Regions from separate parts of the Homo sapiens genome. Here all the other regions are linked to region 2. Evidence: promoter capture Hi-C in human tissues and cell types (Jung and others, 2019). All regions are on one chromosome and are shown on one strand. Each heading gives the region's core, a stretch centred on a gene start or on the middle of the fragment in contact. The rest is flanking DNA. Distances are from core to core; before and after follow the strand shown. Region 1 overlaps NALCN (sodium leak channel, non-selective). Region 2 holds the start of ITGBL1 (integrin subunit beta like 1). Region 3 overlaps NALCN (sodium leak channel, non-selective).

Region 1 (2,700 bases), core at 110-2,609, 110 kb before region 2:
CTCTGTAATTCTAATCCCACTCACTCTGACTCTCAGATCCCCACCTGTGTGGGTAAAATGTATGACTGCATTATCTGTTCCAGCTCTAAACTTCTGTAATTTCATTTCCAGTGTTATTACAGAAAATCACAGTGTCGCCTCTTTTATGTCTCAGCTTTTATGTCTCATATGTTTATGAGCAAGTGGGAACAGCGGAAGTAGGAACTGAAAGTGGGGTAAGTATTCAGAAAAGGGAAGACACATTTTCTAAATAGGGTAAGTTGCTGTGATTTTGTGTCACTTCGACAGTGTGGCTTTTAGGATGTTGTCAATCCCCAAACCTTACCACTGTATGATTCCTACCCACCTTGCCACCCATACTGCAATCACGGAATCTCAATGTCTGCTAAATAAATTTTGCGATTTTGCAAGATGTCCTTTAGATTATGTCTACTACTCAGGAAGCTTGCAACATGGGGAGTGTGTGATATCTTGAGTGCACGGGCTAATGTCTTAGCAGGGATGAGTCAGTTGGGGGTCCTTAGGAAGGAGCCACAGGAAAGCTATCCAGAAATAAAGATGGAAAGGTGCATAAATGGAAGAAAGAGACAGAAATAACTAGTATCTCAGTTGTCACGTGGCTCAGGGAATTAGAGGAGGTCGGAAAATAAATCACTTAGTGCTGGAGCCCCTGCACATCACAGCATGGCTGTGCCTTCTGCTCAATGCCCCAGCTGGTGCTTTACTTAGGCTCTGTGGAAGGAGCACCTGTTGAAAGGCGCTGAAAGGGAGAGGCTCCAATCCAGGGGTCACAGATTCGAATGTATATGGATAAATAAATAAAATTAAACATATGCATGATGCTTCATCAAACTAGAAAATTCAATGACACGGGCTAAATGTTGATCAGATTCTAGAGAGATTGGTACAAGCACAGAAGTCAGGACATTTGTGAGAGGGGAGGGGAATAATTGATGAATAAAGACCAAACATCACCAAAAACTTGCCTTCTAGAATGCTAGTCATTGATTGGAATAAAATGAAATGGGAGATATGAGTTAACATAGGCAAGATGCAAGGTTAAGAACACCGTGCCCCGGCGGGTACAGTGGCTCACGCCTGTAATCCCAGCACTTTTGGAGGCCGAGGCGGGTGGATCACGAGGTCAGGAGATCGAGACCCTCCTGGCTAACACGGTGAAACTCCGTCTCTACTAAAAATACAAAAAAATTAGCCAGGCATGGTGATGGGCGCCTGTAGTCCCAGCTAACTGGGAGGCAGAGGCAGGAGAATTGCTTGAACCCAGGAGGCAAAGTTTGCAGTGAGCCAAAATTGTGCCACTGCACTCCAGCTTGGGCGACAGACCGAGACTCCATCTCAAACAAACAAACAAACAAAAAACACCGTGCCCCTGCCCCAATGCCTCTCCCTTGAATAAGATACTGGAAAACCTGCATAGTTAATGTCTGTAAACAAAGGGAATCATATCAGATGCAGTGTGTGAGTGTGAAAATATCTATGTCCTGCCCTCCCTTATTATTACACCATTTTCCCTCAAATAACACAGAGATACATTCATATTTTGCCCGTGCATCCCAATTTCTAGTTCATTCTGCGTTTGTTCTACGCTACACGTACTCTAAGTGTAGTTTCTCAGTTGCTCTTTACATTAACTGTATAAGGTAGGTCTATCACTTACCCCATTTCCTAGATGGGGAAATTGAGGCAAGAGAGTTAATTACTTTCCTAAGGCTGTCACACTAATATAAAGTGGAGTCATGATCTAAACCCCAGGGCCATTCTTTTGAACAACTGTGCTTCAAGCAAACTTTACCACAAAGGAGTCATGTGCCCCTAATAATTTTAAACATGCTACAGCAAATAGCATAACTCTATTCAGAGGTTAAAAAATATACTGTTTGTTACTTTTCTTTTGAGAACTATTATCAAGATTTAGAAAGAATTGATTCCAATATTATTACTCATATTGAAATGATTTTTTGGGACGTGGTCATAGATAATATTATTTGGATTTTTGAGTTATTTCTAAAGAAAGTAATTTCTGAGTTTATCATGCATTCTCATCTCATGACAAGTATGCACATATCTCTATTATACATTTCATATATTGTATAAATGTTACTTTTTTAACTGCTAAAATGTGAATGTTAAGAATATCAACATAATCACACTATCTCCCCCGGTTTTCATCTTATCTCTTCTAGATATTCATAATTTATAATATTTACATTGTATTTTGTAAATCCTACAGTTACATTAGCTTTGTTCTTAAAACAAATAGATACTAGAGACTAGCTCATGATAAGAAATTCTTGATTGACTGAATGTTTTCAAGAAGATTTCATGCAAAATATAGTCTCTATGTTCCTGCCTCTTCAAAAATATTCAGAAAGAGCTTGACCCATTCTTTCCCTAAAGAATTTGTAAGCATTGTGCCATTACATTCTAGAGTTCCATATTGACATGAAGTTTCAGGCCTCTCTGATGTACCTCCTTATAGCTAACTTGACCTTATTTTTTCTGGATGCCTAATGAATGTTTTCTTTAGCTTTGATTTCCAACAATTTTACTAAGATGTGTCTCAGTGTTGACTGTTCTATGTTCACTTACTGAGAAAAGCTGCATCCTTCGAATCTGTAATTCAGTGCTCTGTTTCCTACTAAGCTTTTATGAGTTATATATCATGATTTTTTTTCAGTT
Region 2 (2,700 bases), core at 83-2,582:
ATATATAAAGGACAGGGAGAAATCCCATCCTATTATGGCTCATCCCTGATTTTAAGGATCTGGGACCACAGATGATTCTTGGATGGTTCTATTTCATGAGGAAGGATTGCATGTACAGTGCTCTTCTTAGGGTGAATGAAAAATGTTTTCCCCCTTCCATATAACCCTCTACACATTTTCCCAGATGACCATAAATGTAGGGGATAGTGTATGCACTTTGGATTTCAGCTGAAATACGACTAACTTCCTCTGTGAATTTGAGCAAGTCAGTTGACCTCTTTGCCCTCAGTTTCTTTATCTTTAAAATGGGAGTAAGAATGTCTCCCTGTTCTCTTCCATCTCCTTCTTATTTCTACCCAATTTAATTCAATACTTTTTTCAGTTTTTTGTTCAGATGCTACCATCTTTGATTAGATCAAGTGCCTGTATCTCATCTGGAAGTAACTTCTCACTGCACTTGCAACCCTTTGTTCTTTTTTTTTGTGGTTTTGTGTTGATTAATGTCTTTCTAGCTCATTGGACTCTGAGAGAGCAGGGATCATGTCTCCTTAGTTCTCTGTTATATTCATTCTGTCTTGCACAAAACCTGGCACCTGATAGATGCTAAATCCCCATTTGCTAATGCATAAATAAATGTGTGATTATTGTCATAATTAGAGAAAACATACTAAATGACTGGCACATAGTAGGTGCTTAGTAAATGACACCAATTGTTTTTCAGTGCAATTTGTGCTATAAATAAACATTTAATTTTCTTTTCTCACATTTGATATATGGGGAGAATGGGGTGAATTTGAGACAACTACAATTTAAACTGTCCAAGTCACCAACAAATTGTGGTGTGATAAGCTACTGGCCTAAACAGCTGGAAGCATGACACGCTTTTTAAAGACTAAAGAAATGAAATATCCAGTTTAAATCAAAGGATAATAAATGCAAGAAAAAGTTGTGTTTGTCAGATTTCCTTGCCCCGGCCCCAACCCAAACTCCAAAGAGTGCATCTACTTTAAAAGCGTGTGGTGAAAGTAATTCCCTACCCAAGTGTTCCCACTACTGTCACTGGCCTCACCCTTCTCCACAACTCAGGGATTATTTTAAAGGTTTCTTTAATATCGGCCAGTCCAAATATTCTCTTGTCAAATATTTCTGTGGCCCGTACTTGAAATCTGTGAACAGGACACTTTTTTTTTTTTTAATGTCAAAATAAACCATCTGCTTGTACAACTGTTTCTAATTACTTCCCTGCCTAGACTCTCCACTGAGGGGTTTGGCACCAGCACCCCGCCCAGAGCAGTGCCGCTGCCCAAATCCTCGCAGGCAGCTCATCAACGCAATTGCAACTCCGGCTGGAGCCCCGGACCTGCAAGCCTGGGTGTCCGTGGGTCCGTCTGCCCAGCCATCTGCTGGTGGCACCTCTCCCTCCTGCCGCCTCCCTCGGTGAACCCCACCTTGCAGAAGTGCAGCTCGCCCGGAGCAGCCCAGGAGCTCAGCATGCGTCCCCCAGGCTTCAGGAACTTCTTGCTGCTGGCGTCCTCCCTTCTCTTTGCTGGGTTGTCAGCTGTTCCTCAAAGCTTCTCGCCATCTCTGAGGTAAGTTTGGTTTGTTATTCTTCAGTACAGACCTGCCCTGCTTATGTGGCAGGGCTCAAGCTTGCAGGATGGCTGCCCTAAGCCAAGAGCTGTTATTAAATTGGACAAGGGATAAACTGTTTTCAACCTGTTCCTTTTCCTCTCCTTATATCTACAGCGTGTATTGCCTCATGTCTGTCCTTTTGCTTTTCCTTTGGAAAAATGCAATCATTGAATAAAAATATAATTTTCTTTTCTGCAAATACATATCAGGAGGAATTCCTGCTGTGAGTTAAAATGCTATGTGTACCAGTATCTTCTCACAACATGTAAAGCAGAATGATCTGTTTCCCAAGGGCAGCAACAGGAGGTCTGTGTTACATTTTGTATCATCCTGAAAGAGACTGAGTGAGGCACACTGCAATAGTGAAACTAAACTTTTTAAAAGTAGAGTTCCTAAAGACTGCTTAATGCAAATTATGCCCGATGCTATCATAGCATGTCTAACTCTTTCTATAGATTCACGTTTTCTCTTCTGTAATATAAGTGCCCATTGGCCATCAGATAGCAGTGGGACGTTTTTTAAAGGAGAACTGAAAAGTCAGCTGAGTGCCGTACCTTGGATTACTTTGTATTTAATCTAAATGTGCATATAAGATTTAGTGATAAACTACCAAAGAGCAGGGCAGTTCACCTCTGTCCACCTGGAGGAAGGACCTGTGTCCGGGGGCAGGTCACCCATTACACATTTTGGGCCCTGGTCATTTCTCTGGTGGGTGATACCTGTTTGCTTGGGAAAATACAGCCCTTCCAGGCAGCGCTTGGACCCCAGAGAGATGTGGGCCTCAGGCGTCCTGTTCTTGGGGTTGTACGTCTGCACCTGGAGGGGACACTGGGGAGGAAACGTGGGTTCGGAGCAGGGGGCGGCGTCCGCGTCTGACCCGGCCTGCCGGTTGCTTGTCGCCCGCGCAGGAGCTGGCCGGGCGCCGCCTGCAGGCTGTCCCGGGCCGAGTCGGAGCGACGCTGCCGCGCACCTGGGCAGCCCCCGGGGGCCGCGCTGTGCCACGGCCGGGGCCGCTGCGACTGCGGCGTCTGCATCTGCCACGTGACTGAGCCGGGCATGTTCTTCGGG
Region 3 (2,700 bases), core at 21-2,520, 94 kb before region 2:
ATATCTCAAAATAATAAGTGCTATTTGTGACAAACCCACAGCCAGTATCATACTGAATGGGAAAAAGCTGGAAGCATTCTTTTTGAAAACTGGCACAAGACAAGGATGCCCTCTCTCACCACTCCTATTCAACATAGTATTGGATGTTCTGGCCAGAGCAATCAGTCAAGAGAAAGAAATAAAGGGTATTTAAATAGGAAGAGAGGAAGTGAAATTTTCTGTTTCCAGATGTCGTGATTCTATAGTTAGAAAACCCCATCATCTCAGCCCGAAAACTCCTTAACCTGATAAGCAACTTCAGCAAATCTCAGGATACAAAATGGATGTGCAAAAATCACAAGTATTCCTATACACCAAAAATACACAAGCAGAGAGCCAAATCATGAATGAACTCCCATTCACAATTGCTACAAAGAGAATAAAATACTTAGGAATACAACTTACAAAGGACGTGAAGGACCTCTTCAAGGAGAACTACAAATCACTGCTCAAGGAAATAAGAGACGACACAAACAAATGGAAAAACATTCCATCCTCATGGATAGGAAGAATCAATATCATGAAAATGGCCATACTGCCCAAAATAAATTATAGATTCAATGCTATTCCCATCAAACTACCATTGACATTCTTCACAGAATTAGAAAAAAACTACCCTAAATTTCATATGGAACCAAAAAAGAGCCTGTATAACCAAGACAATCCTTAGGAAAAAGAACAAAGCTGGAGGCATCATGCTACCTGACTTCAAACTATACTACAAGGCTAGAGTAACCAAAACAGCATGGCACTGGTACCAAAACAGCCATATAGACCAATGGAACAGAACAGAGACCTCAGAAATCACATCACGCATCTACAACCATCTGATCTTTGACAAACCTGACAAAAACAAGCAGTGGGGAAAGGATTCCCTATTTAATAAATGGTGCTGAGAAAACTTGCTAGCCATGTGCAGAAAACTAAAACTGGACCCCTTATACCTTAGACAAAAATTAAATCGAGATGGATTAAAGACTTAAATGTTAAACCCATAACCATAAAAACCCTAGAAGAAAACTTAGGCAATACTATTCAGGACATAGACATGGACAGTGATTTCATGATGAAAATGCTAAAAGCAATGGCAAGAAAAGCCAAAACAGACAAATGGGATCTAATTAAACTAGAAGTACTAAAGAGCTTATGCACAGCAAAAGAAACTATCATCAGAGTGAACAGGCAACCTACAGAATAGAATAGGAGAAAATTTTTGCAATCTACCCATCTGACAAAGGTCTAATATCCACAACCTATAAGAAATGTAAACAAATTTGCAAGAAAAAAAGAAACAACCCCATCAAAAAGTGAACAAAGGATATGAACAGACTCTTCTCAAAAGAAGATATTTATGCAGCCAAAAAACATGAAAAAAAGCTCAACACCACTGATCACTAGGGAAATGCAAACCAAAACCACAATGCAGTACCATTTCACACCAGTCAGAACGGCGATTATTAAAAAGTCAAGAAACAATAAATGCTGGCGAGGATGTGGAGAAATAGGAACGCTTTTACACTGTTGGTAGGAATGTAAATTAGTTCAACCACTGTGGAAGACAATGTGATGATTCATCAAGGATCTAGAACCAGAAATAAAATTTGACACAGCAATCCCATTACTGGGTATACACCCAAAAGAATAGACATCATTCTACTATAAAGATACATGTACACGTATGTTTCTTGCAACACTATTTACAATAGCAAAGACACGGAACCACCCAAATACCCATCAAGGATAGACTGGACTAAGAAAATGTGGGACATATACACCATGGAATACTATGCAGCCATAAAAAGAAATGAGATCATATCCTTTGCAGGGACATGGATGAAGCTGGAAGCCATCACCTTCAGCAAACGTAACACAGGATCAGAAAACCAAACAGCGCATGTTCTCACTCATAAGTGGGAGTTGAACAATGAGAACATACAACACATACTGGGGTCTGTCGCGGGGTGAGGGGCAGGGGGAGGGAGAGCATTAGGACAAATAGCTAATGCATGCGGGGCTGAAAACATAGATGATGGGTTGACAGGTGCAGCAAACCACCATGGCACATGTATACCTAGGTAGCAAACCTGCACATTCTGCCCATGTATCCCACAACTTAAAGTAAAAATTTTTTAAAAAGCAAACAAGTGAATAAATGGATACAAAGCAGGAAAAAAAGTAGAAAATACTTATTTAACAGGATGGCATTTATTACCCAGAAAGTTCTGAAAAAAATTATTAGGAGATGCTTGCTCCCTAGGGTGCTAAAGACTACTTAAAATCAACATTACAAATTACAGAACATGAAAGATACGTGTATCTTGAGCTTCGCATAAAACTGATGTCTCTTTATGGTTAAATTTAGACTATAATGTACTTTTGAGGGGGCAATATCACAGCAGTGATGCTGCGTCCTTCTGTGTGCATCAGCACATCATAAAAATTTGTCCTAGTGCAGTTAATGTTTATGATTCACTTGGTTAAAGAGCTCTCTGACAGACTGTCGCACTACAGAGTTAATTATTTTTCTCTTAATTATTAGGTATCTTTATGCAGCTGATGTGCATAAACCATCACATTTAATCTGGCAGCTGCCCTTCTTTCTTAGGTTTTCTTTGCATATATCTGTCTTTGGTAAATGAAAACTCTCATCTTTGTTTACAA

Evidence for each region. Contacts are between HindIII fragments. The study calls those that stand out against the background at their distance.
Region 1: a fragment that was not itself captured here is called in contact with the fragment with the promoter of ITGBL1 in region 2 in 3 of the 25 tissues and cell types used here (H1 embryonic stem cells, dorsolateral prefrontal cortex and hippocampus).
Region 3: a fragment that was not itself captured here is called in contact with the fragment with the promoter of ITGBL1 in region 2 in 2 of the 25 tissues and cell types used here (hippocampus and pancreas).

The regions. Positions count from the first base shown.
Region 1 is chr13:101,338,910-101,341,609 of GRCh38, forward strand. All of the region lies in intron 7 of NALCN (sodium leak channel, non-selective), which reads right to left. Among named protein-coding and RNA genes, the nearest start is that of NALCN, 76 kb to the right of the region's middle. The HindIII fragment of the contact is 5,110 bases long and covers 1-2,700 here.
Region 2 is chr13:101,451,343-101,454,042 of GRCh38, forward strand. It overlaps ITGBL1 (integrin subunit beta like 1), which reads left to right and starts at 1,333. Exons shown (of 11, transcript NM_004791.3): 1 at 1,333-1,589; 2 at 2,541-2,700. The coding sequence starts at 1,492. RefSeq lists an enhancer at 911-1,415. The HindIII fragment of the contact is 7,410 bases long and covers 1-2,700 here.
Region 3 is chr13:101,357,031-101,359,730 of GRCh38, forward strand. The region is part of intron 6 of NALCN (sodium leak channel, non-selective); the gene reads right to left. Among named protein-coding and RNA genes, the nearest start is that of NALCN, 58 kb to the right of the region's middle. The HindIII fragment of the contact is 6,642 bases long and covers 1-2,700 here.